Regions from separate parts of the Homo sapiens genome. Here regions 1, 2, 4 and 5 are each linked to region 3. Evidence: promoter capture Hi-C in 16 types of primary human blood cells and fetal thymus (Javierre and others, 2016). All regions are on one chromosome and are shown on one strand. Each heading gives the region's core, a stretch centred on a gene start or on the middle of the fragment in contact. The rest is flanking DNA. Distances are from core to core; before and after follow the strand shown.

Region 1 (5,857 bases), core at 1,619-4,118, about 14 Mb before region 3:
GGAGGACTCCTTGAGCCTAAGAGTTCAAGACATGCCTGGGCAAAATGATGAGACCTTGTTTCTACAAAAAATAAAAAAAAATTAGCTGGGCATGGTGACACACACCTGTAGTCTCAGCTACTCAGGAGGCTGAGGCAGGAGGATCACCTGAGCCCAGAAGGTCAAGGTTGCTGTGAGCCATGATCATACCACTGGACTCCATCCTAGGCAAGATAGCAAGACCCCATCTCTTAAAAAAACAAAAAGGAGAGAAAGAAATAGATTCTTCCCTTCCCTAGAGCCTCCAGAAGGAATGATGCCCTGCTGACATCTTTATTATATTCCAGCTAGACCCATTGTGGATTTCTGATCTCCCGAACTTTAAAATAATTTGCTTTGCTTTATGCTACGAAGTGTAGTATTGTTGACGCTTGAACAATGAGGGGGCTAGGGGCACTGACCCCAGTACAATCGAAAATCTGTGTATAGCCTTTGACTCCCCAAAAACTTAACTATTAATAGCTTATTGTTGACCATACTGATAAAATAAATAGTTAACACTTTGTTTTTTTTGAAACATGGTCTTGCTCTGTCACCCAGGCAGGAGCACAGTGGCGTGATCTTGGCTCATCACAACCTCCACCTCCTAGTTCAAGCAGTTCTCCTGCCTCAGCCTCCTGAGTAGCTGGGACTACAGGAGCGTGCCACCATGGCCAGCTAATTTTTTTTTTTTGTATTTTTTTTTTGTAGAGACGGGGTTTCACCATGTTGGCCAGGCTGGTCTTGAACTCCCGACCTCAAATACCACCTGCCATAGCCTCTCAAAGTGCTGGGATTATAGGTGTGAGCCACTGCTCCCAGCCCTTAATTAACACATATTTTGTATATGTATTATATAATGTGTTCTTAAAGTAAGCTAAAGAAAAAGCTATTTAAAAAAATCATAAGGAAGAGAAAATATATTTACTATGCATTAAATGGAAGTGGACCACCATAAAGATCTTCATCCTCATTGTCTTCACAGTGAGTAGGCTGAGGAGTAGGAGGAGGGGTTGGTCTTGCTGTCTCAGGGGTGGCTCAGGCAGAAGAAAATCCATGTATAAATGGACCCACACAGTTCAAACCCATGTTATTCACGGGTCATTTGTAACTGGTTGCAGGAGGAGCAATAGGAAGCTAATATATTGGGTAAGGGCTGTTATTGATGTGGAGGGACCCTACTGTGACCCTTTCCCACACTGGCCATCCCTCCTGGACTCTGGTGACAGGCCACTCTTCCCACCTGATGCCAATGGGAAATTGCCTGTCAGTGGGCTGGGATACCTCTGCTACCTACCAATCACCCTACAGGCACATGGCGTAGGGCCCAGCCTGGATCCACTGACCCACAGACACATGAATTATAAACAATTATTTGGTTTAAGCCACTGAGGTCAGAGTGTTTTCCTACACAAAAGCTGACTGATGCATGACTTCAGGCCTTTGCACCTGCTGTTTCCTCTGCCTGAAATACTACTGTTCACTCAGACTGCCTCATGGCTCAGGCTTCAAGTCACATGTCACCTCCTTGGAGAGGCTATCCCTCATCTCTCTGCTAAAGTCTACTCATCCCCCTCCTAGTCTACCTCATTGCTCATTTTCATTTTCTCGGCATTCATCACAATCTGTAATCATCCAACTTGTTTTATTATTATTATTTTACCGATTTATTGTTTGTTTCCCCCACTCCCTCACCAAGAATATAAATTCAGTGGAGATGAGGACGTGGTGTCGTCACTCACAGCAAAATGGGTGCTTGGTAAATCTTCACTAAGACTGAGTAGTAAATTTGCTCTGAAGAATTAGAGAGCAGATGCAGAGGGAGAAACCAGGAAGCAAGCATGGACAGGCTTCTCTCTGCCCCGAAGGGCTCCCATCTCACCTGGGTACACGCCTTGGGGAAGTCTAGACTCCACCGCCCACAGCTCTGCCTCTTGCTCCAGCAGGGAGATGACATTCGGCTTCGGTAACCAATGTCCTGCTCAGGGAGAGACCCATAGAGTGAGCATTTGTATCCCAGGACCCTTCCTGAGCCTCAGCCCATTCCACCTTTGGTCTTCCAGGTCCCAGATGGCTGGGGACCCCTGAGTGACTTCAGCTGTCATACCCACAGCCCTGGATGTTCCTCAGGGACTCATTCCCCTACTCTCAGTCCCTGACCCTACCACTGGTTCTGGGGTGGACATGTGACCCAAGCCTGGACAATCAGAACTCTGGTTCCTCCCCTGCCCACTGGCATCAATGATCACTGTGAAGAAGACCTGGCAGCCAAACCAGGACAACCCTGGGACACAGATCCTGTCTTTTCTGCTGGTCTTGGTTGCAGGAAAGGCACCCCAGGCAGTTGTCTTGTCACCTCCAGAGGAGCCTCTCTGGAAATGAAGCCAGAAAGAGATTGCTATGGTCTGAATGTTGGTGTCCCCCTAAAATTCAGGCTATGCATAGTGGCTTATGCCTGTAATTCCAGCACTTTGGGAGGCTGAGGTGGGAGGATCACTTTAGCCTAGAAGCTTGAGGGCAGCCTGGGCAACACAGCAAGGACCCGTCTCTACAAAAATTTTAAAAATTAGCTAGGTGTGGTGGTATGCACCTGTAGTCCCAGCTACTTGGAAGACTGAAATGGAAGGTTTACTTGAGCCAGGAGGTTAAGTGTGCAGTAAGTATGACTGTGCCACAGCACTCCACCCTGGGCAAGAGAACAAGACCCTGTTTCTTAAAAATAAAAAAGGTTCAGGCCGGACGCAGTGGCTCACGCCTGTAATCCCAGCACTTTGGGAGGCTAAGGTGGGTGCATCACGAGGTCAGGAGATCGAGACCATCCTGGCTAACACGGTGAAACCCCGTCTCTACTAAATATACAAAAAAAAAAAAAAATTAGCCAGGCGTGGTGGTGGGCACCTGTAGTCCCAGCTACTCAGGAAGATGAGGCAGGAGAATGGTGTGAACCCGGGAGGCAGAGCTTGCAGTGAGCCGAGATCGCACCACTGCACTCCAGCCCGGGTGACACAGCGAGACTCTGTCTCAAAAATAAAAAATTTAAAAACAAATAAATAAATAAATAAATAAATAAGGTTCAAATGTTAGAATGTAATACCTAATCTGATAGTGTTGAGGTGGGGCCTTGGGGAAGTGATTAATTCATGAGGGCTCCACTCATGAATGGGATCAGTGCCCTTATAAAAGAAGCTTGAGATAACTCCCTTGCCCTTATGGCATGTCAGGACACAGGAAGAAAGTGCCATCAGTGAGGAGCAAGCCCTCACCAAACACTGAATTTGCTGACACCTTGATCTTAGGCTTCCCAGCCTCCAGAACCATGAGCAACAAATATCTATTGTTTAAAATTACCCAGTCTAAGGTATTTTAGCAGCCCTAACAGACTAAGACAGAAGTGCAGAGGGAGGTGTTGAAGAAGGAGGGGCTCCTAACAGCTCTACAGAACACCCTGGTCTACCCTGGGATTCTGTAGTCTTCAGACCCAGTATGTTTCCCTCACCTCATGTTTCTCTGCTTCTGTTGATTTCAGGTTGAGTCTGAGACTTGCTAATATTGGTCTTAATTGATATTTCCTACATTAAAACAGTCAGGTTCTTAAAGCCCAAGACATACAGCCCCAGGCATTTGCTTTTAAAGCTCAGTCCTATAAATATTTAACCTGGTAGAATCAGAATCCGTGTCAGGGACAGATCAACAGATAGGACATGGGTGTGGCCTTACCCACAGAGACCAGAAGCCTGAAGGTGTCCAGCATTACATCACGGTACAGGGTCCTCTGGGCAGGCTTCAGCTGCCCCCACTCCTCCTGGCTGAAGCCCACTACCACGTCCTCAAACGTCACTTGCTCCTGAAACATCACACGAGTGTCCTCAGCCAAGCCAACCCTGGCACTGGCTGCTGGTGGGGTAGCTGGTAAATGCCAGCCAGGCTGGGTCGGATGGAGTTCCCTTTGGTCTGGGGTTTTGGGTCAGGTTTTTCTGTGGGGCCTGGATGGGTGCCCTGCTGATGAGGTGGAGGATCTTAGAATCTAAGGCATCATGCCCGTTTCCAATAATTTGTCTCTTGAAATAAGAAATGGAGGGAGCCAGCAATAAAGGAGTGGACCAGCCCAGCATGGTGTCGCATGCCCGTGGTCCCAGCTGCTTAACAGGCTGAGGTGGGAGGATCACTTGAGCACGTAAGTTTGAAGCACAGTGAGCCATGATTGCATCACTGCACTTCAGCCTAGGGGATAAACAAAGTTATAAAGCTAGTAGCAGAAGTCTAAAGACTGAATCTGGGTGGTTTTTTTTTTCCCCCGAGACGGAGTCTCGCTTTGTCGCCCAGGCTAGAGTGCAGTGGCATGATCTTGGCTCACTGCAAGCTCCGCCTCCTGGGTTCACGCCATTCTCCTGCCTCAGCCTCTCGAGTAGCTGGGACTACAGGCGCCCGCCACCCCCCCGGCTAATTTTTTTTTGTATTTTTAGTAGAGACGGGGTTTCACCGTGTTCGCCAGGATGGTCTCGATCTCCTGACCTCGTGATCCGCCCACCTCGGCCTCCCAAAGTGCTGGGATTACAGGTGCGAGCCACCGCGCCCGGCCAAATCTGGGTTTGTTTTTTAATTTTTTAGAGACAGGGTTCCACTGTCATTCAGGCTGGAGTGCAGTGGCACATCATGGCTCACTGCAGCCTCCAACTCCTGGGCTCAAGCAATCCTCCCCCATAGCTGGGATTACAGCTACAAGCCATCGCACCAGTCCCCTTGTACGGGTTTTCTGACATTCCTACAGGAGGCTGGTTTCTTCTGGTGGCTTATGGGTGGGGTTAATGTCATCATAAAAAGGCGAGTTCCGCCCCCTTGGCCTCCATGACGTCTGAGGAAGCGGCACTCGATGCGCCATCTTGGAGCGCAGAGCATGCTAAGGCCTTCAACTTCAGACTGCAGAGCCGGGGCACCTACAATTTTCTGACATCACCCAGCCTCAGGTATGCAATGACGGCCGCACAAACATAAAGCCCACTCAGACAGGGACCCGTGCCCGCTGACCTCCAGCGCGGCGTGGGCGGTCCTTTCAGAGGCAGGCTGTGGTTGGGGAGCTTGGCGCGGACTTTAGGAGGCCGGGTGTGCAGGTAGAGGCCGGACACGAGTAGAGGCTAGATGTGCAAATAGAGGCCGGGCACGAGTAGAGGCCGGGCACCAGTAGAGGCCAGGTGCGCGAGTAGAGGCCAGTTGTGCGAGTAGAGGCCGGGCACGAGTAGGGGCCGGGCACGCAAGTAGGGGCCGGGCACAAGGAGGAGGCTGAGCGCGAGTAGGGACGGGGTGCAAAGAGGAGGCCGGGCGTGAGAAGGCCGCGCGCGAGGAGGCCGGGCACGAGGTGGAGGACACGCGCAAGGAGGCCGAGATTCTCACCGGGTCTGTGGAGACGCGCACCCCAGGGGTCATGCCCTGGCTTCTGGCAGGAACGGCTGGCCCTGCTCTGTGGGAAAGGGGAGGTGAGCAGCTGGGGCAGGCAGAGGCGGTGCTCAGGTCCCCAAGCCGGGGAACTGCGCCAGAGCCTGGGGAGCTCCGCGGAGAGCCGTCCAGGGCCCCGCGTACCCGTTTAAGCGCCTGCTGTGTGTGGGGCGGCCCTCCGCTCGGAGAAGGGCAGCCTAGGGTTTTCCCGCCTGTCTGAGGGAAGCTGAAGGCCTGGCGGGTGCGGACACATATCTGCTGCGCAGACTCTGAGCCTTAACGCTACAGTGACAAGGGCCGGGTGGTTGCGGTCCCCTGGCCCTGGGCACTATGCCTCAGTTTCTCTCTTCCATCAACAAAGGTGGCGGCCCAGTGCCCGGTGTGGGGCAGAGGTGGGGCCAGGGGCGGG
Region 2 (5,186 bases), core at 122-2,621, about 13 Mb before region 3:
CCGAAAATCTCACACTGTGGAGAGGCCTCGTGACAGCAGCAAATGTGGAAAACCCTACAGCCCAAGATCTAACATTGTTTAACTCTTGAAACTCCAAACCTGAGAAAAGCCTTAGACCTGCAGGGAATGTGCCATGTCTTTCTTCAGTGTTATGGCTATAGAGAGCCTTTGTGAAGGAGCCGTCTGCCTAAAGTTAAACCTCATACTTCTAGACCTCCCGATGGGTCAGACTCCCATTAGTTCCAGGCATATGTGTCTTGCAGGAGCTCCTTTGCATGTTCTAAACTGCTGGAGGCCTTTGCCAGAGTTAAATCATTAGTCACCCTTGCATACTAAGGCGAGGCAGATACACCTGTGTTCTCCCAACCCTTGGAGGAAATTCCTTGAGCAGTCTGAGCCTTTAAGGGGAATTCCTTCCCTTTTCTGACTGATTACAGCATACATCTGACCAGTTTTGGCCAGAAGGGCCCAGCCTGGGTTCTGCTGGAAGCTGATGTGGAAGGCTTCCCTTCATGGAAATTCTTGTTTTCACACAACACTTGGTAGTTTTTCCAGCCTCCAAGTCACCACCTAGTAACTGGCTGCCTCACATTGCTCTGGTTTGTGTGGTAATAAAGGCCTTATTTTTAAATCTATGTGTGGTCTTAGGGTTTGGTTTACTGTGTGAGGTGGCTGGAAAACACATTTGGGCTCCTACATAAAGGCATGGACAGCTTTTGTGGGGCCCCAATGTTGCTGGCCTGTGCAGGAAAAGTAAAATGACAGTAGTTCTTGTTCTGGTTTTAGTCCACTTTGCCTTGCTGCTCAAGGCCTCCTAGGAAACAATGCAAGAATTTTGTTGTCCTAATTTATGGCCTGGATCCCTACACTTTCTCTGGACCAGAGGTCATCCTGAGGACAAGTCGGCTGTTATGACAGGCTCCTGTGCTTTAGGGAATAAGATGGATTTATTGCATTGTTCTACAGGCTGTAATGCCCAGCACTGTTGAGACGAAGCTTTTTCCCAGCTTCTGCAAAGGAACCTATGTGCCCTGATGCCCATGATTCCATAGATGGTGGTACTCAAGCTGATGGGAGCTAAGCATGGGACATAATTGGTACAGAAATTTTGGGTATGATTAATAGAAAGTGGAGGAGGTAATAGCAAAACAAATGTGCCTGTGGTAAAAGTGCATCTACACATCTAGTAACTGGCTGTGTCTATTTTTACAACACACACAATCTCCTTGTACAAGGTGTGACAGTGTAGGCATAGCCTGGCTTAGAGGGAACAGCTCCATTCTGCAGCATGATTGTCAGAGCATGGAGCCAGGCAAGCAACCTGGAGGATTACTTGGGATGATTTAATGTGAGTGCAGGAGGACATGTGGGAGGTAGAGAATCAGAAGGAGCCTGGGTAGCAGAAACCTTAACTTGGAAATGACATCCCCCATCATAGGCTTTATCCTCTGCCACAGTTACCCTATTTTCAGAGGCAGTGTCCCTCACCCTTGTGCCCTACATGGAGCTCAACCCTCAGATGTCCTGGTTCTCTGTGCCTTTCCCAGTGACCAAGCAATAGGTTCTAATATCTAACAGTCTGAGGTCAACTTTCTGTTTGACTTGCCAGGCATTGGTGCCTTTCAAGGTCATGGCCCTGACCTTCATCTGGTAGAAATGTGGATATTTGGGCCTGGCCCAGAGGACACTGCACCAAGATGTGAGGCTGCAGAACTGTGGGCTCTTGGTCTTGCTGGGTAAAGCTTTATTTCTGTCCCATGTGGGTGACCCTAGTCCTCTGATTCCATCCTCTTGCACATACTGCCTGGTGAGAAAGGCATCTCAAGCCCTTCTCCCTCTACCCACAGGTCCTGTTGTATTCTCTGTTTTGGTCTCACATGCTTTTGCCTGGTCTCCCTGTGTCTGCACTGGGGATCACTGGGGTAGAAACAGCCCTTTAAACACAAATCCTCACCCTAGTGCCCAGCACACTCTGCCCTCTGTCTGAGGTCCTTATTCCAGAATTCAGGCAAGAAAACTTGATCTAGCCTGGTTGGGTCAGGTATCCCCAGAGATTGGTTAACAGGACTGTGGGTAGTGGATTATTCTCGAAGAAGGGGCTGAGCTAGGCAGGACTCCAAGGTAGCATGTCCATCAATATCCCCCAGGTATCTTATTATATAATGCTGCCTCTTTTTTTTTTTGATGGAGTCTCACTCTCGCCCAGGCTGGAGTGCAGTGGCATGATCTTGGCTCACTACAAACTCCACCTCCCAGGTTCAAACGATTCTCCTGCCTCAGTCTCCTGAGTAGCTGGGATTATAGGCGTGTGCCACCACACCCGGCTAATTTTTGTATTTTTAGTAGAGATGAGGTTTCACCACGTTGGCCAGGCTTGTCTCAAACTCCTGACCTCAGGTGATCCAGCTGCCTCGGCCTCCCAAAGTGCTGGGATTACACGCATGAGCCACTGCGCCCAGCTGCTTTTTTATTTTTTAAAGAGCTCCTTATGTCAGCATGAATTATCCTCATTTCCTGAGGCCTAAGTTATATTCTTCCAGTGGTAAGGGAGATGGTTTTAGAAAGCACAGAGGTAGGACATCAGGTGGCGTTGTAGGGCAGGTGAGCCCCAAAATTGGGGCTTAGTCCAAGAAGGTTCTTGGCTTCACTCAGGAAAGAATTCAAGAGCAAGCTAGTGGTAGATGGAAAATAGCTTTGTTGAGGCAGCAGGGTTACAACTCTGTGGCTGCTCCTACAGAGCAGGGCAACCCCATAGGCAGTGTGTCGAGTATCAGCTCAGGGGGCAGCTCTGCAATCATATTTATACCCGCTTTTAACTACATGCAAAGGGTGGGTTATTTGGAAATTTCTAGAAAAGGGATGGTAATTTCCGGGTGTTGTCATGGTGATGGTAAACTGCCATGGCACTGGTGGGTGTGTATTATGTAGATATGCTCTTGGTGCCTGTTCCCTGTTTCAGCCAGTCTTCAGTCTGGTATGGAGTCCTGCCTCCTATCTCACTCTCCCATCAGAGATTAGATACTCCTCTTTAATCTTAAGGGGGCTCTGTGACTGCTTGCTGCTGATTTTGTGGGCCTAGGCCCTGCCTAGCACTAAAGGAGTAAACATCCCTGGATACCACATATAAGGTCCCCAAAGGAAGGACACTTCCATTCTCTGGAATAGTAGACAAGGATGGGTTGGAAGCCTTGTGCCAGCATTGTCTTTACCTGGAACTAGAACAGGATACCCCAACCCCTCTCCTGTGGATACTGGTCCATGTCCTGTTAGGAACTGGGCTGCACAGTAGGAGGTGAGTGGCAGGTGAGTGAGCATTACTGCCTGAGCTCCACCTCCTGCCAGATCAGTGGCAGCATTAGATTCTCATAGGGGTGCTAACCTTATCATAAACTGTGCATGCAAGGGACTGGGGTTGCACACTCCTTATGAAAATCTAGTACCTGATGATCTGAGGTGGAAGAGTTTCATCCTGAGACCAGCCCCCAGCCCCAGCCCCACATACCCCATCCATAGAAAAATTGTCTTCCATGAAACTGGTCCCTGATGCCAAAAAGGTTGGGGACTATTGATCTAGAAAACACAAACTTTACTAAGAGGTTAAACAAGCAAGAGCCAAAGAAAATATACATAACAGGGTCACTTGCTTATAGATCTTTTGAATGTTAACCTATCCAGAGTTGCTAATATATGTGCAGCAGGTTTTATTAACTGCACAGACTTTACCTTGTTCCGCTAGTAGATAATCTAATGCCAGTGTGTTATTGAGAACTGCATTTGCCAAAGAGTCTAGAGATTCTTGAATTGCTGGTAGTGCCTAACCTGTGTTGGTGGCTAAGGATTCTAGAGTTTGAGTCAAGTTCTTTAGGGTTGACTTGTGGTAGGCAAAGCCACCCTAGGGTGCTGCTTGTCCTATGGCTGCCCTGATTCCCACCAGAATTAATCCTATTGCTTGTTGACTTCTGGTGTTCCTGGGCCTTATTGGGTTATAGACTGTGACCCTTGGAGGGGCAAGGGTGGTCAACATACATTTATCTTTGTTCCAAGTTTTTGATATATAAGGGAAAGCTACTCCTAAAAGAACAGATGGCTCCCTGGGGAGCCAGGAGTAGTTACAGCATGTGACTTCTCATTCATGGCCACAAACAAAAATGAGTCCAGTTGGAGCATAGAGGTCCTACAGGGTGTAATGTCTATCCTTTGCTGCCAAGTTGGGTCTATAGAGATATTCTTCCCCTGTTCCAATGGGGGTGGTCAAACAAACCTTGTTTTCCAGAAGCGAATAGTACTCCCACCCTCCCAGATTAGGCAGTCATTTTTTCCCGTGTGTTCTGGTCTGGGAGAAGACATCATATATGGTCTTCTTGCCTACAAGTGAAATACCATTTACCTTGCTGTTGCCTTGGAAACTTGGTAACTATAGTTAGATCAGAGCATCACAGGGAAACGTCTGCTTTTGTGTCATTAACATAGTAGTGAGTGCAAAAGAATCATTAATGCACTGGAGATATACTCAACTTTTCAAGTCCAGGTATAATGGCAAGTGTGGAAGGGGACATTCAGGTGGAATCCATTAAGTGAAGGAGAGTTCCACTGAATAAGTAGGGGTTTTGGTACTTTGGGATTGCTATGGTTAGTTAGAAGTACTGGGTAGATGTCTGTGAGGTTTTCCAGATAGGCCAGAAGATGGAACTCTAGATCCTGGGGATGTTGATGACAAGTCCAGCAACCATGAAGATGATTCCCTGACACTATAATTTTTGAACTGTTTACTATAGAGGTTTGATCTAATTAGAACAATTAGAGGATTTCTGTCTAAACTTTCACCTAGTGAGAGCTTTTTGTCCCTAATGACAGACATTCATGGCACTGTATAGAGGGGATATTTCATGCTGAGTGAATACCCTTCTCCCTCTCCATTTGGGTTGTGTTTTTCCTCCATGTAAAAGCTCAGGACTGCCCAATGAATCTAGACAGTTCCATTATGAGACAAGTTAATTTTCTTCTTCTGGAAGGCATACAATGGGGACAGCCTATTAAGCCCAAACCTCTCTTTCTAACTTCTTCCTGGAAAGAATTTGGAGTCAGAGTTCTTATTTAACATTTCAGATCCTACAGCGCCACCAAGTGAAATAGGATTTTTTCTCCATAAGGAGCCCTATCTGCCCTTTGTGCAAAACCATTAGTTC
Region 3 (5,202 bases), core at 1,095-3,594:
AGGCAGAAAAAGAGACATGAAAGTGTGGCCAGGGATGCCATCCACCAACACGAATGTGTATTGTAAATTAACACATGAATGTTCCCAACAGCATCATTCATAGTAACCCAAAACTGCACACCAACAAACTCCCTCCTATGCGTACATGGATAGACAAATTGTGGCCTATCCATACAATGGAATCTTATTTGGAAATTAAAAGGAATGAAGTACTGATTCATGCTACAACACGCATGAACTTTGGAAACATTATGCTAAGTGAAAGAAGCCAGTCACATAGGAAGGCCCACATATTGCATGATCCTATATCTATGAAATTCCAGAGTAGGCAAGTGTATATAACGAGAAAGTAGATAGGTGGTCTCTGCATATTTGAGGTGACAAAGAGGATTAACTATAAGTGAGCACAAGGAGGCTTAATGGGGGATGAAAATTATTTAAACTGAATTATGGTGATGTTTATTCCACTCCACAAAGTTCCTAAAAATCATTAAAGTGTACACACGAAATGGGTAGTTTCTATGATATGTAGAATACACCTCAATAAAGTTGGACAAAGCATTGGTAATTGTTCATCCACATGTCATTTAACTTAATAAGACTGGATTCTGGATCTACACTGATAGAATATTTATAGTTGAATGAATGAATAAGCAAATGAAGGAGAAGGGAGAGTTCACCTTTACAGTAGAATGTGCACTAATAAATGTATTTCTCCTTACAAAATTTTATTTAACTAAAAAATTAGGGAGTGTATATTGAGAGCAACTTGAATCTGTGTTCCTGGGGTAAAAAAAAAAATTCAAAATAATTTTACAATGCGGAAATCTGACAAACATGACTTTAGCCAAGTGAACAAAGTTGAGATCACCAATGAAGTGACAAACTGACATATGGCCCCTGTTATGTTGCAATAAGAAATTTACCACTTCAGGCTGGGCACGGTGGCTCATGCCTGTAATCCCACACTTTGGGAGGCCAAGGCGGTTGAATCACCTGAGGTCAGGAGTCTGAGACCAGCCTGGCCAACATGGTGAAATCCCTTCTCTACTAAAAATACAAAAATTAGCCGGATGTGGTGGCAGGCACCTGTAATCCCAGCTACTTGGGAGGCTGAGGCAGGAGAATAGCTTGAACCCAGGAGGTGGATGTTGCAATGAGCTGAGATCGTGCCATGCACTACAGCCTGGGCGACAAGAGCGAAACTCCGTCTCAAGAAAAAAAAAGAGAGAGAGAGATTTACCACTTCTGTGGTATTCCAGCAAAAAATGCATATTTTGAAGTTAAACGTGAAATACATCAGAAAAACTCCAAATGAACATCTTTGACCAAAATAACTTCATCTATACTCTTCAAAAATAACAAGGATAAAATACCAAGAAAAAACGATGAAAGCTATGCTATCTTTCAAGATTAAAGACTAGAAAAACATGACAACTGAAAGCAACACCCATGCCCGAAGACACATCCTATACACTCTCGGTTGGGGTGAGCATCTCTGTCAAAGAAAAAAGCCAAGGATCACTCACGTAGAGCTTTGCCCTCAGAAGCCAAGAAGTCCCTCCCTGCAGCTCTTTTGGAAAGGTCGGGCTGGGTAAGGAGAAGGCTGTGAAACACTCTGACCGTGGTCGCCGTGCCCCATAAAAGTTAAATGCTCCTCTCCCCTCCTGGAAGTGGATGCAACCCTCGCCTTCCTAAAAGAGAGGTCAGAAGGCGTCCGGGATCACCCAGCGTCTTGCAGGAATCAGGGAGAAGGGCCGGTGCCCCTGCAGCTGGAGTTTCACCCCACCCGGGGACCTGACAGGCTTCGTGGGAAATTAACAAGAGACCACCAGTCACCAAGTGACAGGGGCTGCTTTAAGGCTCTCATTTGTGTTACCGCTTTCAGTTCCCAAAACGATTCTATTAGGATGGTCCTAAACTCCCCATCTTAAAGAACTGTAACGGGAGACCCAAGGAGATTAAGTAACATCCCAGCGTTTTATCGCGAGGAAGTGGCCACGCGCGTGGGGTGCAGGGAGGCCGAGTGGGCGAGCTCAGAGCCCCGGAGACCCTAAAACCAGGCGAGACGCGACCCGACCAAGTCCCAAACACCCCGGGGACGCGAGGAGAGCCCCAAGCCCAAGAAGGCTCCACTGACGAGAACGAAAACAGCGGCCCCGCTCCGCCAAACCTCTGCTCTCCGACGAGGTTTCTTTTCCCCTAATTCGATCACCAGTTCGTTAAGGATCCAATGCGTAGGTCCAGGAAATTCAGAAGGGTCTCGCGGAACTGACCCAAACTACCAGGGACAAAACTGCAGCAACCTCACAGTAACGGAGCGGAAGTGGCCCGCTACTCCACTGAGTGTCTGGACTCCACTTCCCAGAATTCCTGAGACAAACTGACCGCGACGACCCCGAGCGTCTGGACTACACTTCCCAGAATTCCCTGGGATCCACCTGCCGGAGTCAAATTGACCGAGACTCCACTGAGCGTCTGGACTACATTTCCCAGAAATCCCCTGATTCGCCTGCCGGAGCCAAGCTGACCGCTACTCCACTGAGCGTCTGGACTACCATTCCCAGAATTGCTTGTATCCTCCTTCTGGAGCCAGTGTGTACGACTCCACAGAGCATTTGGATTACACTCCTCCGAATGCTGAAGGAAAAACGCTCAAAATCTCATTCTTCAGGGGGAAGCGTTGCCACTCCGAGGTGCCCACTGGGAACGAATCCCAAAGCCACGAGCGCCTGCCTAGTGGGGAATGTGAACTGTTATCCTGAGAGTCGTCCTTCTCTCTCCCTGGTCCAGGACAGAAAATACTGAATAGACAGGAATTTCTGAAGTCTAAACGCCTCCAATGATAACAGGAGTGTTATTGGAAAGGGAACAAGCGAGAAGACACAGTCTTCGAGGAGTTAAGTTTTGCTAATCTAATGGTAAGAAATGGTTTCTAAATGTAGTTTTAATTTGTATTTGTTCTTTTGTAAATAAAGTGGAACATCCGTGCATATTTTCCGTTGCCACTATTATAGTCTTTGTGAATTGGTCAAATAGTTTGCCCACATTTCTATTGAGTGTTTAGTTTTTTCCCCTCCGTTAAGTATTATTTACATACTCATATTAACATTGTATCAAATATTGCTCAACCAAAAAGCTTTTTTCCTTTGACTTGTTTTTCGCTATGCAAAACGTTTTTAACGTGGTCGTTTTATTATTTAAAAAATATTTTTGAGGTGTAATTCACAAAACAAAATTATTTTAAGGCACATAATTCAATGGCAATGGCATCTAGTACGAATACAGTGTTGTTAATATATACGAGTTAAGAAGCCATCACTTAGGCAGATAGGGTATGGGAGCCCTCGGTAAGGCTTTTCTTTTTAATGAAAAGCAGCCCCAAATTATTTCCCTTCCTAAGGAAGAGCAGCCTGTAAAATCCAGCTGCCGCAGACATAGATACCAGCAGTTGTGCCAATCATGTTAAAGATGGCGGCTCCATCTTCCCTTCTCTTTGTCAGCCACGTGCACAGTAAGAAGCTGGCAAGATGGGCCAATCAACTGGGAAGCCTATTTGCATAAGAAGATTAGGGTGGGGCGACCAGCCTTCCCCACGCACTATGTAAACGTCATAACTGATCGAACCAATCTATGACCCCTATGTAAATCAGACACTGCCTCCTCAAACTGGTCTGTAAAACTCAGCACATTCACTGCCAGCCGACCCTTTTCCGCTCGGAGACCCCTTCCTCTATGGAGGAACCCGTTTCTCTTTCTCTTCTTCCTATTAAACCTCCGCTCCTAAACTGAGGAGTTTTTGTGTGTCCGTGTCCTAAATTTTTCTGGCGCTTAACGACGAACCCCGGGTTTAAACCTCAGACAAAGTAGCTGCTTCATTGTGAAACCACCACCTCTTGAATTACAAAACATTTTTATCACCCAAAGAAAACCCCATGCCCACTAAGCAATCACTACTGTTGTCCATAATCCCATTCCTGGGGAAACATGAATCTTTCTCTCTTTTCTATTACCTATTTTGGACAAATCATAAAAATGAATGGAACATTTTGTTTCTAACTCCCTTTGCTTAGCATAATATTTTTAATGTTATTCACATCATACCACGTATCAGTACTTCATTCCTTTTCATAGATGAATATTTTATGTTTATACTACAATTTGTTTCTCCATTCATACATTGACGCACATTTGGCTTCTTTTCACCTTTTGGCTGTAGTGAACAGTGTTGCTACAAATGTTCGTGTATACGTATTTGTTTCATTACCAGCTTTCAGTTTTGGTTGTTTTTTGTTTGTTTTTTGTTTTGAGAGGGAGTTTCGCCTCCCGCGTTCAAGCGATTCTCCTGCCTCAGCCTCCAGCGTAGCTGGGATTACAAGCATGTGCCACCACGCCCGGCTAATTTTGTATTTTTAGTAGAGAGGGGGTTTCTCCATGCTGGTCAGGCTGGTCTCAAACTCCCGACCTCAGGTGATTCACCCGCCTCGGCCTCCCAAAATGCTGGGATCACAGGCGTGAGCCACCGCGTCCAACCGTGTATTCCACTTCTTTCTGCTGCTGAGACACAATAATTTCAGATGACTTCTCTTTATATTCACTCATTCTGAATACAGCAAGAGTAGGGAGATGAATATTAGGTGCACTTACCTGTGGCTTCAGAGCCTGCACAAACACAATCTCATATATACCACTTCCAAATGGAATACTAATCTGCACATGTAACTTAAAAAGGTGCAGGGGTCAACACCCGATTCATGATGGAAAGCATAAGTCACATGTTAATTTGGTGGTCTGTGGTCAAGTGTTCTGTCCGTTTTAAGACCCCTAGTGGCCGGGCGTGGTGGCTCACACCTGTAATCCCAGCACTTTGGGAGGCCAAGGCGGGTGGATCACGAGGTCAGGAGTTTGAGGCCAGCCTGGCCAAGATGGTGAAACCCCGTCTCTACTAAAAATACAAAAATCAGCCGGGTGCGGTGGCGGGGCACCTGCAATCCTAGCTACTCGGGAGGCTGAGGCAGGAGAATCGCTTGAAACCGGGAGGCAGAGGTTGCAGTGAGCCAAGATTGCACCACTGCACTCTAGCTTGGGCCACAGAGCAAGACTCGTCTCAAAAAACAAAAACAAAAACAAAACAAAACAAAACACCCTAGCAAAATGAAAAGCTTCTTCTCCAGAGGAGAGTAAGTATATGCAGAGGATGGC
Region 4 (5,101 bases), core at 867-3,366, about 13 Mb before region 3:
CCGATTTTAAAGCCATCAGATCTCGTGAGACTAATTTACTGTCATGAGAACAGCGTGGGAAAAACCCACTCCTATAATTCAATCACCTCCCACTGGGTTCCTCCCATGACATGTGGTACTTATAATTCAAGATGAGATTTGAGTGGGGACACAGCCAAACCATATCAGATCCTTTCACTTAGAAATATGTATTTAAGTTCTTCCATATCTTTTATTATTTATTTTAATGTGGATAAATATACCATTTTCTAAATGTACCACACTTACCTGTTCACTTACTGAAGGACATTTTGGTTGCTACCAAATTTTGCCAATTATGAACAAAGGTGCTATAAATATTCATGTACAAGATTTTGTGTGGACATAAATGTTTAACTCATTTCAGTAAAACCAAGAAGCAGTATTACTGGATCTATGGTAATTGTTTTGGCATTGTTTCACATTTCAAATCAGTTGAGAAACCTTCTCAGGTATCTTAGAGGAAGCAAAAACAAAGTGCTTCTTCCTTTTTTACTTTTTCAATAATCTCTAAGCCTCCAGATGTCTGTGAATGTCACCTTTTGAATAGACATACACATACACACAACACAGTCACACTGCATAAGTGTGTTACTATTGCACACCTATCTGCAGGACCAGAGTTCAGTTACCCATTTCCTTAATATCTAGTGCACAGGAATATGGAGAAAGGGTCAGCATGTTAAATGACATCAGAGAGACACAAAACAAAAACACGCACCATTCCAGAATGTGGCAAATTCTGGACAAATGTCTCATCAACTTCAAGAATAATAATAAAAAGTGGTAGCTGTGTATTATTATAGACTCACCAGATGAAACTACTAATAGCCATATAGATTCATTTTGGATCTGATTGCAATGAATTTGTCTTAAAAATCAATTTTGGAGACAATTCGAGGTGACTGAGCACTGATGATATATTTTATGATGCCTTAAATAATGATTGATAAAGTTATAGGAATTATGAAAGAGCTCTTATGCTTGAAAATGCATTCTGAAGAGGTGCAGCATTGAATGACAAGATGTGGGAATTGTAAGTAAAATAATTATGTGTGAAAAGAGTTGAAACAAGAATGGCTACTAAATGATAAGTAATAATGGAAGATTTAGAAAGGTTTCATAGTGCATCTGAACACAGTCCTTTCCATTTGTGTATATACTTGAAAATATCCATTAGAAGAGGAAAAATAAGTTTTTGTACCCATTACTTGTTAAGAGGGATGGACTAAAAAGGGCAGGTGGAAACTTATGGTTTCGAGTATATATTAAAATAGAAATTGTATACTTTAAATATGCAGAATTTAAGACAACTAGATTTCACTTAAGCCACTTTTAAAAACACAAGTAATAAATACTCAAAAGTCAATTCTTAATCATTTTACTGTTTTACTCTTATATATACATTGTTCTATAGTGAGCAGGTGTATGAAAATCTATCCCAAAGGCCAACGAAGCTGAAAGGCCAAAGAAGGAGGAAGAGGCCAAATTGTTTTCAGAAACATTTCATAGGGACTCATGAACAGAAGTGATGTCTTGTGCAGCTGTGAGACAATGGATCCCTGTATCTGCCCTCCAGAAGGCAGTTTCCTTTACATCCTTTATAGGACCCTTTTTGTAGTGGTCAACAAGGCTGGAGTTTTTTGTTTGTTTGTTTTTCTAGACGGAGTCTTGCTCTGTTGCCAGGCTGGAGTGCAATGGCGTGATCTCGGCTCACTGCAACCTCCACCTCCTGGATTCAAGTGATTCTCCTGCCTCAGCCTCCCAAGTAGCTGGGATTACAGGCACCCGTAAGCCACCACAACCGGCTAATTTTTCTATTTTTAGTAGAGATGGGGTTTCACCATGTTAGCCAGGATGGTCTCCATCTCCTGACCTCGTGATCTGCCCACCTTGGCCTCCCAAAGTGTTGGGATTACAGGCAAGAGCCAACACGCCCGGCCTGGAGTTTTTAGGGTAAAACGTGCAGCTCTTCACGTCTTCAGACTTTCTTGCCAAGACTCATGACCATTGGGGGAGAGAAGCATTTTGATGATATCTATGCTACTGCTTCAGAACATAGGTGACCATGACAGCTTCACTTCAAGATGGCATCAGTCTTGCCACACCACAGGCTGTATGGTTCCTACATACATGATCTTCAGGTTATCTGCGGCTACTGTATTGGCATGGTGAAAGTAGAATACAGTGGTGTGACGCTACCCACTTCTTCTCAATTCATGTTCAGTGACATTATTTTGACACCTTGTAATTGGCCATGGTGGGAGTATTTTACCAGGGAAATTGGCAAATATTAAAAACCAGGGCTTATTTGTTTCATTGAATGGTTAGACCTAAGAAAGTGATGGAGAATTTGTCAATGAAGGTAGTGTTTCAGGTATATAGTGTCTGTAGTTGTTACACTGTGAATAGACCAAAAAACTGAGAAATTATTTTCCCAGTATTTGAAAACAATTTTATCATTTAGCAAATAAGTGCATCACATTACTGAAGAATGAGTAAAGTTTCAACATAAGTCTTTGTTATACGTCTATTTATTAATGAAAAAGTATCACCAACATCCATTTAAAAATAAGCAAAAGACATTAATAAACATTCTTCCAAAGAGGATATACAGGTGGCAACTAGATACAAGATGTTCAAATGTTCAATACCATAAAATACCAGAAAAATGCAATAAAATCACAGACAGATGCTATTATACAGCTATTAAAACAACTAAAATTAAAAAGACTAACCATACCAAGTATGGCAAGAATGTAGAGAAATAAGAAGGTTCACATACTGTTGATGAGAATGCAAATGGTACAGTTAGGTTATAGTCTGGCCTTGTCTTTAAAAGTGACGCATTCACGTACACTGTACTACTGACACAGGAGAAATAAAGCATTTCTGCATATTAAGAGTTATATGCCTATGTTCATAGTAGCATTATTTGCAACAGCCCAAAACTGGAAAGCATCCAACTGTTTATCCAAATTGTGACATATCCACAGACTATTTCTCAGCAATACAAATGAACTATTCACATAAGCAATATTGATAAATCTTAAAAGTAATTGTGCATCAGCTGGTGTGGTGGCTTACGCCTGTAATCCCAGCACTTCGGGAGGCTGAGGCGGGCGGATCACGAGGTCAAGAGATCAAGACCATCCTGGCAAACATGGTAAAACCACATCTCTACTAAAAATACAAAAATTAGTTGGGCGTGGTAGTGCATGCCTGTAGTCCTAGCTTCTCAGGAGGCTGAGGCAGGAGAATCGCTGGAACCCAGGAGGAGGTTGGAGTGAGCCAAGATCATGCCACTGCACTCCAGCCTGGTGACAGACTGAGACTCCATCTCAAAAAAAAAAAAAAAATTGTGCATCATCAGGAAAAATGGAGTAAGTATTTTACGTTTCAATTCACATAAAATCCTAGAAAACACAAACTATTCTCCTGTAGGGAAAGTAAATGACAGGACTCCTGAAGGCCTGGAAAGTACACGCAGAGATTGTAAAACAGCAAGAGGTGAATCATGAATATGTTCATGATCATGATTATGGTTTCACAGGCTTGTATGACAAACTCTTCAAATTATACACCATAAATGGATGTAAACTATGGCATGTCACTTACACATCAAGAAAGTTTGTAAAACATGTTTCACAATAAAGTATCTGATCACCCAACTTTCAGAAACCAGAATGCCTAGCAATCTCATGTTGACTGCACTCTCTCTTCAGGCCTGGGGAAGGGCAACCATGAGTCCCTCCATGCAGGAAATGTTGGCAAGCAATGAAGGCTGTGGCAATTTGAGACAACAGCAACACTGGTGGAAATCACAAGAGCTATCAATACATCCCTGGCCTATAGGACTTCTGTTATCTTTATCCTCCTTTTTCTGCCTCTACAGCAATGCACTTGAGGTGAACAACCTAGAAAACCAACAAGAATTAAAAAATAAAACCCTTTAATTATTTTTGCTGAAAATAACCTCAGCTATTGGACATACACAGATTTCTAGGTCCTATGACTGCTCAAAGCCACAGTCACGGGAAGATTTGTAAATGTACTTTTATAAGAGGCACATTCCAACTAGTTTGCTACAGTACACACAGTACAGAAATACCCAGGTATTTCTGTACCAATTACAGTTCACATGTGACTCGCGTTGTCTTCTGCGTGACATCGGCCTATGGAATGTTTGATATCAGGGCATGCCTCCTTATAGAACCCCATGAAAAGCTTCTCAGCAGCACTGGGCATCATATGACATCCTCTGGAAACAATGGAATAAAATTGTCCTATTCCCTGAAGCACACATGCTTGTCATAACAGCTGGCCTCTCCTCAGGATGACCTCTAGTCTCACAGAAAGAATAGGGATCCAGGCCACAAATTAGAATAACCAAAACCTTGCATTTTTTCCTAGGAGATTTTAGGTAGCAAAGCAAGTATGACCAAAACCAGAATTAGAATTACTCTGTCATCTTACTTTCCTGCAGAGGCCCACAAAAGCCATCCATTCCTTCATATAGAGTTGAAGTCTGTCTCCCAGCCACCCCACACAGTAAACAGAACCCCAAGACTACAGGTAGATTCAAATATAAGGCTTTTATTAGTGCACAAACTGGAGCAATGTGAGGCAGCCATTCACCACGTGGTGACATGGAGGCTGGAAGAATGACCAAGTGTCATGTGAGACCAAGAATTTACATGAAGGGAATCCTTGCACATAAGTGTCCAGCAGAACCAAGGCTGGGCCCTCCTGACCCAAACTGGGTCACACGTATGCTGTGATCAGTCAGAAAAAAGAATGAATTTTCTCTAAAGGCTTAGACTGCTCAAGATTTCCTCCAAAGACTTAAGAGAACACACAGATGTCTGCCTTGTCTTAGCACATAGGAGTGACCAGTGCCCACTGTGCAAGGTGGTAGAGGGTAGATGGTTTCTACCAGAGAAACAAGGAAGAATGAGGTTCAACTTCAGGCAGATGGCTCCCTCACAAAGGCTCTCTACTGCTACAATACTACAGAGACAGCACTTTCCCTGTAGGTCTAAGGCTCTACTTAAGTGTGGACTTTCAGGAGCTAAATGATGAT
Region 5 (5,342 bases), core at 2,833-5,332, about 14 Mb before region 3:
TCTGCCTCCTGGGTTCAAGTGATTCTCCTGCCTCAGCCTCCTGAGTGAGTAGCTGGGATTACAGGCATGCGCCACCATGCCTGGCTAATTTCTGTATTTTTAGTACAGATGGGGATTCACCATGTTGGCCAGCCTGGTCTCAAACTCCTGACCTCAAGTGATCCACCCACCTGCGCTTCCCAAAGTGCTGGGATTATAGGCGTGAGCCATCGTGCCTGGCCTCAGAATCAATTACAGGTGCGGTGGCTCATGGCTCAGGCCTGTAATCTGAGCACTTTTGTAGGCCAATGCAGGCAGATCACTTGAGGCCCAGAGTTTGAGATGAACCCGGTAACACAGTGAAACCCCATCTCTACTAAAAATACAAAAAACAGCTGGGCATGATGGCTTACGCATGTAATCCCAGCTACGTGGGAGGCTGAGGTGGGAGACTCACTTGAACCTGGGAGGTGGAGGTTGCAATGAGCCAAAATCACACCACTGCACTCCAACCTGGTAGAGAGTCTTGAAAAAAAAAAAAAAAAAAAGTATGCAGCAACTAAAATATCCATAAATGGATGGATGAATGAATGAATATACAATGACATTTCACGGCAGACTATACTTCTCAGCAACATAAAACGAATGAACAACTCATATATCTACAATGACATCAAAATAAGCATGATGCAGGAGAGCACCCAGGGATTATAAGAGGAAACACTTTATTACATCAGTCAGAAAATTCCAGAAAATGGAAAGTACTCCATCATACAGCAAAGTAAATCAATGGTTGTTTGAAGAGCAGAGAGAAAAACTTTATAAAGGCTCCAAGTAAATACAAAGGTGATAGATTAGATAAATTCATTATGGTGACTCTGATGATGGTTTCACGGGATTATAATAAAATTCAAGACTTATCCTACAGCTCAAATATGTGTACTTTATTGGATGTCATTTATATCTTTATTTTATTTTTAAGATGGGGTCTCACTCTATCACCCAGGCTGGACTGCAGCGTTGCAATCTTAGCTCACTGCAACTTCTGCCTCCCAGGCTCAAGCAATCCTCCCACATCACTAAGACTAAGGTACATGCCACCATACCTGGCTATTTTTCCTAGAGACAAGGTTTTGCCATGTTCCCCACACTGGTCTCAAGGAATCTGGCCTCCCAAAGTGCTGGGAATACAGGCATGAGCCATGATGCTCAGCCTATACCTTATTACAGCTTTTATAACACGGTTTAAGAGAAAAATACAGATTTGCCATCATTTTTGGTGACAGGTTTGGCAATTTTATGTTGACTTTACCAATTCTTCTCATGCCCTAAGTGGGGAAACTAGCCTCCATAGAAGCAAATATTGATGTAGCAGGAAGGTCATTTCTACCTGATTGAACTGGATCACTGGCTGGTCACAAAGCTACATCACTGAACTGAGATCTTTTTCCCTATTCTGTTCCTCCTGTTAATACAGGAGTTACCTTAAGGTGAGCAGCCCAAAAGGTTACATGAATTCACAAAACCTTTAGATTATTTCCTCTGACCAAAGCTTAGCTACACAACATTCATTATTATGGAAGTCTTGAGAATTTCTGTATCTGCTTATCCATCACAGACACAGTGACTGGATAACTGTGGACACTCCTTTAAAAGACATACATTTCAGCCAAACACAGCGGCCCACACCTGTAGTCCCAGCACTTTGGAAGGCGGAGGTGAGCAGATCACCTGAGCTCAAGAGTTGAATTCAAGACCAGTCTGTGCAACACGGTGAAACCCGTCTCTACTAAAACCACAAAACATTAGTGGTGTGGTGGCATGCACCTGTAATTCTAGCTACTTGGGTGACTGAGGTGGGAGAATCGCTTGAACCCAGAAGGCACAGGTTGCAGTGAGCCGAGATGGTGCAACAGCACTCTAGCCTGGGTGACAGAGTGAGACTGTGTCTCAAAAAAAAAAAAAAGATATATTTCAAAAACTTTATTGCTGTCCCCTCTGCTGACTATAAATGCAGTAACTAAGTAACCATAAAATTATAATTTCATCCTATAGCCTTACAACCTGTGATGTTGCCTTACAGAATTCTGGATATCATGGCACATGTGTGCCTTGTAAGATCTGCTGAACAGAGTTCCCTCAACAGTACCGAGCACAGTGCAATATACCTCATAAGAGAGAATTTTGTCTGGTTCAAAAAAAATCACCAATCTTTCAGTGTGATATTGACACTAAAATAAAAAACCCACCAGAGGTTGTTATAAAAACTGCCCTGTACCCAGCTGACCTATGAACCCACAATCTGTAGTATCCATGCTACAGATGAAGACCACAAAGCCATGAAGTCGTCCACTGGAGGCCTTGGGCAGCTATGCAAATAGGCCACAAGTGAAGAAAGCTATATTCTGCATTCATGCTGTCCCTTGGGCCACGCAGTTTAGCTATGCTGTCCTTCAAGGTAGCAGGACCCAGGCTGGAGTGCAGTGGCATGATCTCAGCTCACTGCAACCTCTACCTCCCGGGGTTCAAGCAATTTTCCTGCCTCAGCCTCCTGAGTAGCTGCGGCTACAGGTGCGCCACCATGCCCGGCTAATTTTTATATTTTTAGAAGAGACAGGATTTCACTATATTGCCCAGGCTGGTCTTGAACTCCTTCCTGTCCTTGTGATCCACCCACCTCGGCCTCCCAAAGTGTTGGGATTACAGGCATGAGCCACCATGCTTAGCCAAAATAGTCCATCTTTTCAAGTCAGCACAAGAGTCCTCTGGGACAAAAATGGGGAAGGTCCATGGTGTAACTTATCAGAAAGAAATGAAAAAGCAAGAAGTGCTGAGGCTACTCAACAAATCCTTCTGTGACCAGATCTGGAATTAAAAATTAAAGAAATAAAAAAGTCCCAGCATGGTGACTTATGCCACGCCTATAATCCCAACATTCTGGGAAGCCAGGCAGAAGGATCACTCGAGACCAGCAGTTTGAGACCAGACTGTGCAACACAGCAAGACCCTGTCTCTACAAAAAATATAAATTTAAAAAATTTTTAAAAAGGCCAGAAGCAGAGGCTCACACTGTAATCCCAGCACTTTGGGAGGCCAAGGCAGGTGGATCACGAGGTTAGGAGTTCAAGATCAGTTTGACCAACATAGTGAAACCCCATCTCTACTAAAAGTACAAAAATTACCTGGGTGTGGTGGCAGGCACCTGTAATCCCAGCTACTCAGGAGGCTGAGAAAGGAGAATTGCTTGAACTCAGGAGGCAGAGGTTGCAATGAACCAGGATCACACCACTGCACTCCAGTATCGGTGACAGTGAAACTTTGTCTCCAAAAAAAAAAAAAAAAAAAACAAAAAAAAACAACCAACCAACCAACCAACCAACCAAACAAAAAACTTAAAAAAAAAATCTCTCGTGAATGGGAGACAACCAAAATATACTTCTAGAATACGAAATAGGTGAATGATGCAATGTGGGTACCTACCAAGTAGCTGAGATGTAATGGCTTTTGCCAGATAAGTGGCAGTCACATAAGTCTAGCAAGATAACAGGGCATAGTAAAAAATATAATACAGATGCCACATGCCTGGAGTTTTTTCAATTTGGGCACATGGTGCCCTCAAAGGATCTCCTCCCATGTTACACAGAAAAACATAATTGGCTGAGCACAGTGACTCAAACCTACAATCTCAGCACTTTGGGAGGCTGAGGTGTACAGATTGCTTGAGCTCAGGAGTTCGATACCAGCCTGGAAACATGGTAAAACCCTATATCTACTAATATGAGAAAATAGCCAGGCATGGTGGTGCATGCCTGTGGACCCAGCTACATGGAGGCTAAGGTGGGAAGATCACTTGAGCCTAGGGGGCGGAGGATGCAGTGAGCTACGATCGCAGCACTGCACACCAGCATGGGTGATGGAGTGAGACCGTCTCTCCAAAAAAAGGAAAAAATAATAACATTCCCTATATATCTAACCTATACATCTACAGTGTTTTTCTCATCTCAGTGTTCTAGGATTCAATGACAGAAGGCACAGTGCTTTTTTGCAAACATTACATTCAAAAGGCATTTCCGTAGTGACAGCTCTCCTGTGAGTTTTGAAGCCAGACTTCTGGATAAATAGCCTATATTTGCCACACTAGTAAGGCCTTCATTCAGTGTTAAATATAATCCTGAAGGAATACAGAGGTGTGGCTACAAAACTGCCAAATTTATTTTACTTGTAAGGACTTTTCTCTGGTGTGAACTCTCCAATGTCCAAGGAGAGCAGACTTCTTTTGGGTAAACATTTTCCACATTTGCTGCAATCACAAGATCTTACTCAGGTGTGTGCTCTCCTGTATTTAATGAGACTGGACTCATTCTCTGCACTCATAAGGCCTTTCTTTCATGAACTCTCTGATGGTAACGAAGTGAAGAGCTTTTCCTAAATTTTTTTTCACATTCACTACACCCATAAGGCTTTTCTCCAGTGTGAACTCTCCTGTGATTAGTGAGACTGGAGATTCCAGCAAAAGATTTCCCACATTCACTGCACTCATAAGGCTTCTGACCAGTGTGAACTCTCCTGTGACTAGTGAGATAGGAGCTTGCAGCAAAAGATTTCCCACATTCACTGCACTCATAAGGCTTCTGACCAGTGTGAACTCTCTTATGAACAATGAATGCACAGCTGTGGGTAAATGACTTCCCACAATCACTGCATTCATATGGCCTTTCTCCAGTGTGAACTCTCTGGTGTGCAGTGAGGTGGCACTTGTGCCTAAAAAATTTCTGACAAGCCTCACAAGCATATGGCTTCTCTCCACTGTGAATTCTCTGGTGTACAAGGAGGTGAGACTTCTTCTTAAATAATTTTCCACATTCCCAACACATATAAGGCCTTTTTCTAGTATGGCCATGCTGGTGTAGAATGAGGTTACCCTTGTGACTAAAACATTTCCCACATTCCCCACACTTATAAGGTCTTTCTGTAGTGTGAACTCGCTGATGACTCCTAAGGTGTCCTTTTTCATTAAAAGATTTCCCACAGTCTCCACACTTGTAAGGTCTTTCTCCAGTGTGCATGCGCTGATGGATCCTAAGGTGCCCCTTTGAAATATAAGATTTCCCACATTCTCCACACTTGTAAGGTCTTACTTCAGTGTGAATGCGCTGATGGTAACTAAGGCTGGGCTTCCGACTAAAAGATTTCTCACATTCTCCACACTTGTAAGGTCTCTCTCCAGTGTGAATGCGCTGATGACTCTTAAGGTTCACGTTTGAACTAAAAGATTTCCCACATTCTCCACACTCATAAGGCCCTTTTCCAGCGTGAACTTTTTGATGGCGCCTAAGATATCCTTCTAAGCTAAAATATTTCCC

What was found. The method cuts DNA at HindIII sites, captures the fragments that hold promoters and counts their contacts. A CHiCAGO score of 5 or more calls a contact.
Region 1: a fragment that was not itself captured here is called in contact with the fragment with the promoter of ZNF225 in region 3 in 1 of 17 cell types (total B cells); the score reaches 5.9 in total B cells.
Region 2: a fragment that was not itself captured here is called in contact with the fragment with the promoter of ZNF225 in region 3 in 5 of 17 cell types (activated CD4 T cells, non-activated CD4 T cells, total CD8 T cells and 2 more); the score reaches 9.0 in activated CD4 T cells.
Region 4: a fragment that was not itself captured here is called in contact with the fragment with the promoter of ZNF225 in region 3 in 2 of 17 cell types (non-activated CD4 T cells and total CD4 T cells); the score reaches 10.5 in non-activated CD4 T cells.
Region 5: a fragment that was not itself captured here is called in contact with the fragment with the promoter of ZNF225 in region 3 in 1 of 17 cell types (total CD4 T cells); the score reaches 6.2 in total CD4 T cells.

What each region holds. Positions count from the first base shown.
Region 1 is chr19:58,059,585-58,065,441 of GRCh38, reverse strand. It overlaps ZNF135 (zinc finger protein 135), which reads right to left. Exons shown (of 5, transcript NM_001289401.2): 2 at 5,407-5,473; 3 at 3,736-3,862; 4 at 1,901-1,996. The coding sequence starts at 5,439. Among named protein-coding and RNA genes, the nearest start is that of ZNF135, 3.2 kb to the right of the region's middle. The HindIII fragment of the contact is 676 bases long and covers 2,531-3,206 here.
Region 2 is chr19:57,567,015-57,572,200 of GRCh38, reverse strand. It overlaps ZNF416 (zinc finger protein 416), which reads left to right. Exons shown (of 4, transcript NM_017879.3): 4 at 1-635. The coding sequence ends at 82. Among named protein-coding and RNA genes, the nearest start is that of ZNF416, 9.3 kb to the left of the region's middle. The HindIII fragment of the contact is 746 bases long and covers 999-1,744 here.
Region 3 is chr19:44,110,541-44,115,742 of GRCh38, reverse strand. It overlaps ZNF225 (zinc finger protein 225), which reads right to left and starts at 2,344. Exons shown (of 5, transcript NM_013362.4): 1 at 2,174-2,344. ZNF225-AS1 (ZNF225 and ZNF224 antisense RNA 1) reads left to right here and starts at 2,560. Exons shown (of 2, transcript NR_033341.1): 1 at 2,560-2,921. RefSeq lists an enhancer at 1,891-2,590 and a silencer at 2,283-2,633. The HindIII fragment of the contact is 4,811 bases long and covers 1-3,141 here.
Region 4 is chr19:57,591,324-57,596,424 of GRCh38, reverse strand. It overlaps ZIK1 (zinc finger protein interacting with K protein 1), which reads right to left. Exons shown (of 4, transcript NM_001010879.4): 4 at 2,535-5,101. Among named protein-coding and RNA genes, the nearest start is that of ZNF530, 6.0 kb to the left of the region's middle. The HindIII fragment of the contact is 4,262 bases long and covers 1-4,247 here.
Region 5 is chr19:57,841,584-57,846,925 of GRCh38, reverse strand. ZNF587B (zinc finger protein 587B) reads right to left here. Exons shown (of 3, transcript NM_001376223.1): 3 at 688-5,342. The coding sequence ends at 4,350. Among named protein-coding and RNA genes, the nearest start is that of ZNF587, 5.6 kb to the left of the region's middle. The HindIII fragment of the contact is 5,098 bases long and covers 1,534-5,342 here.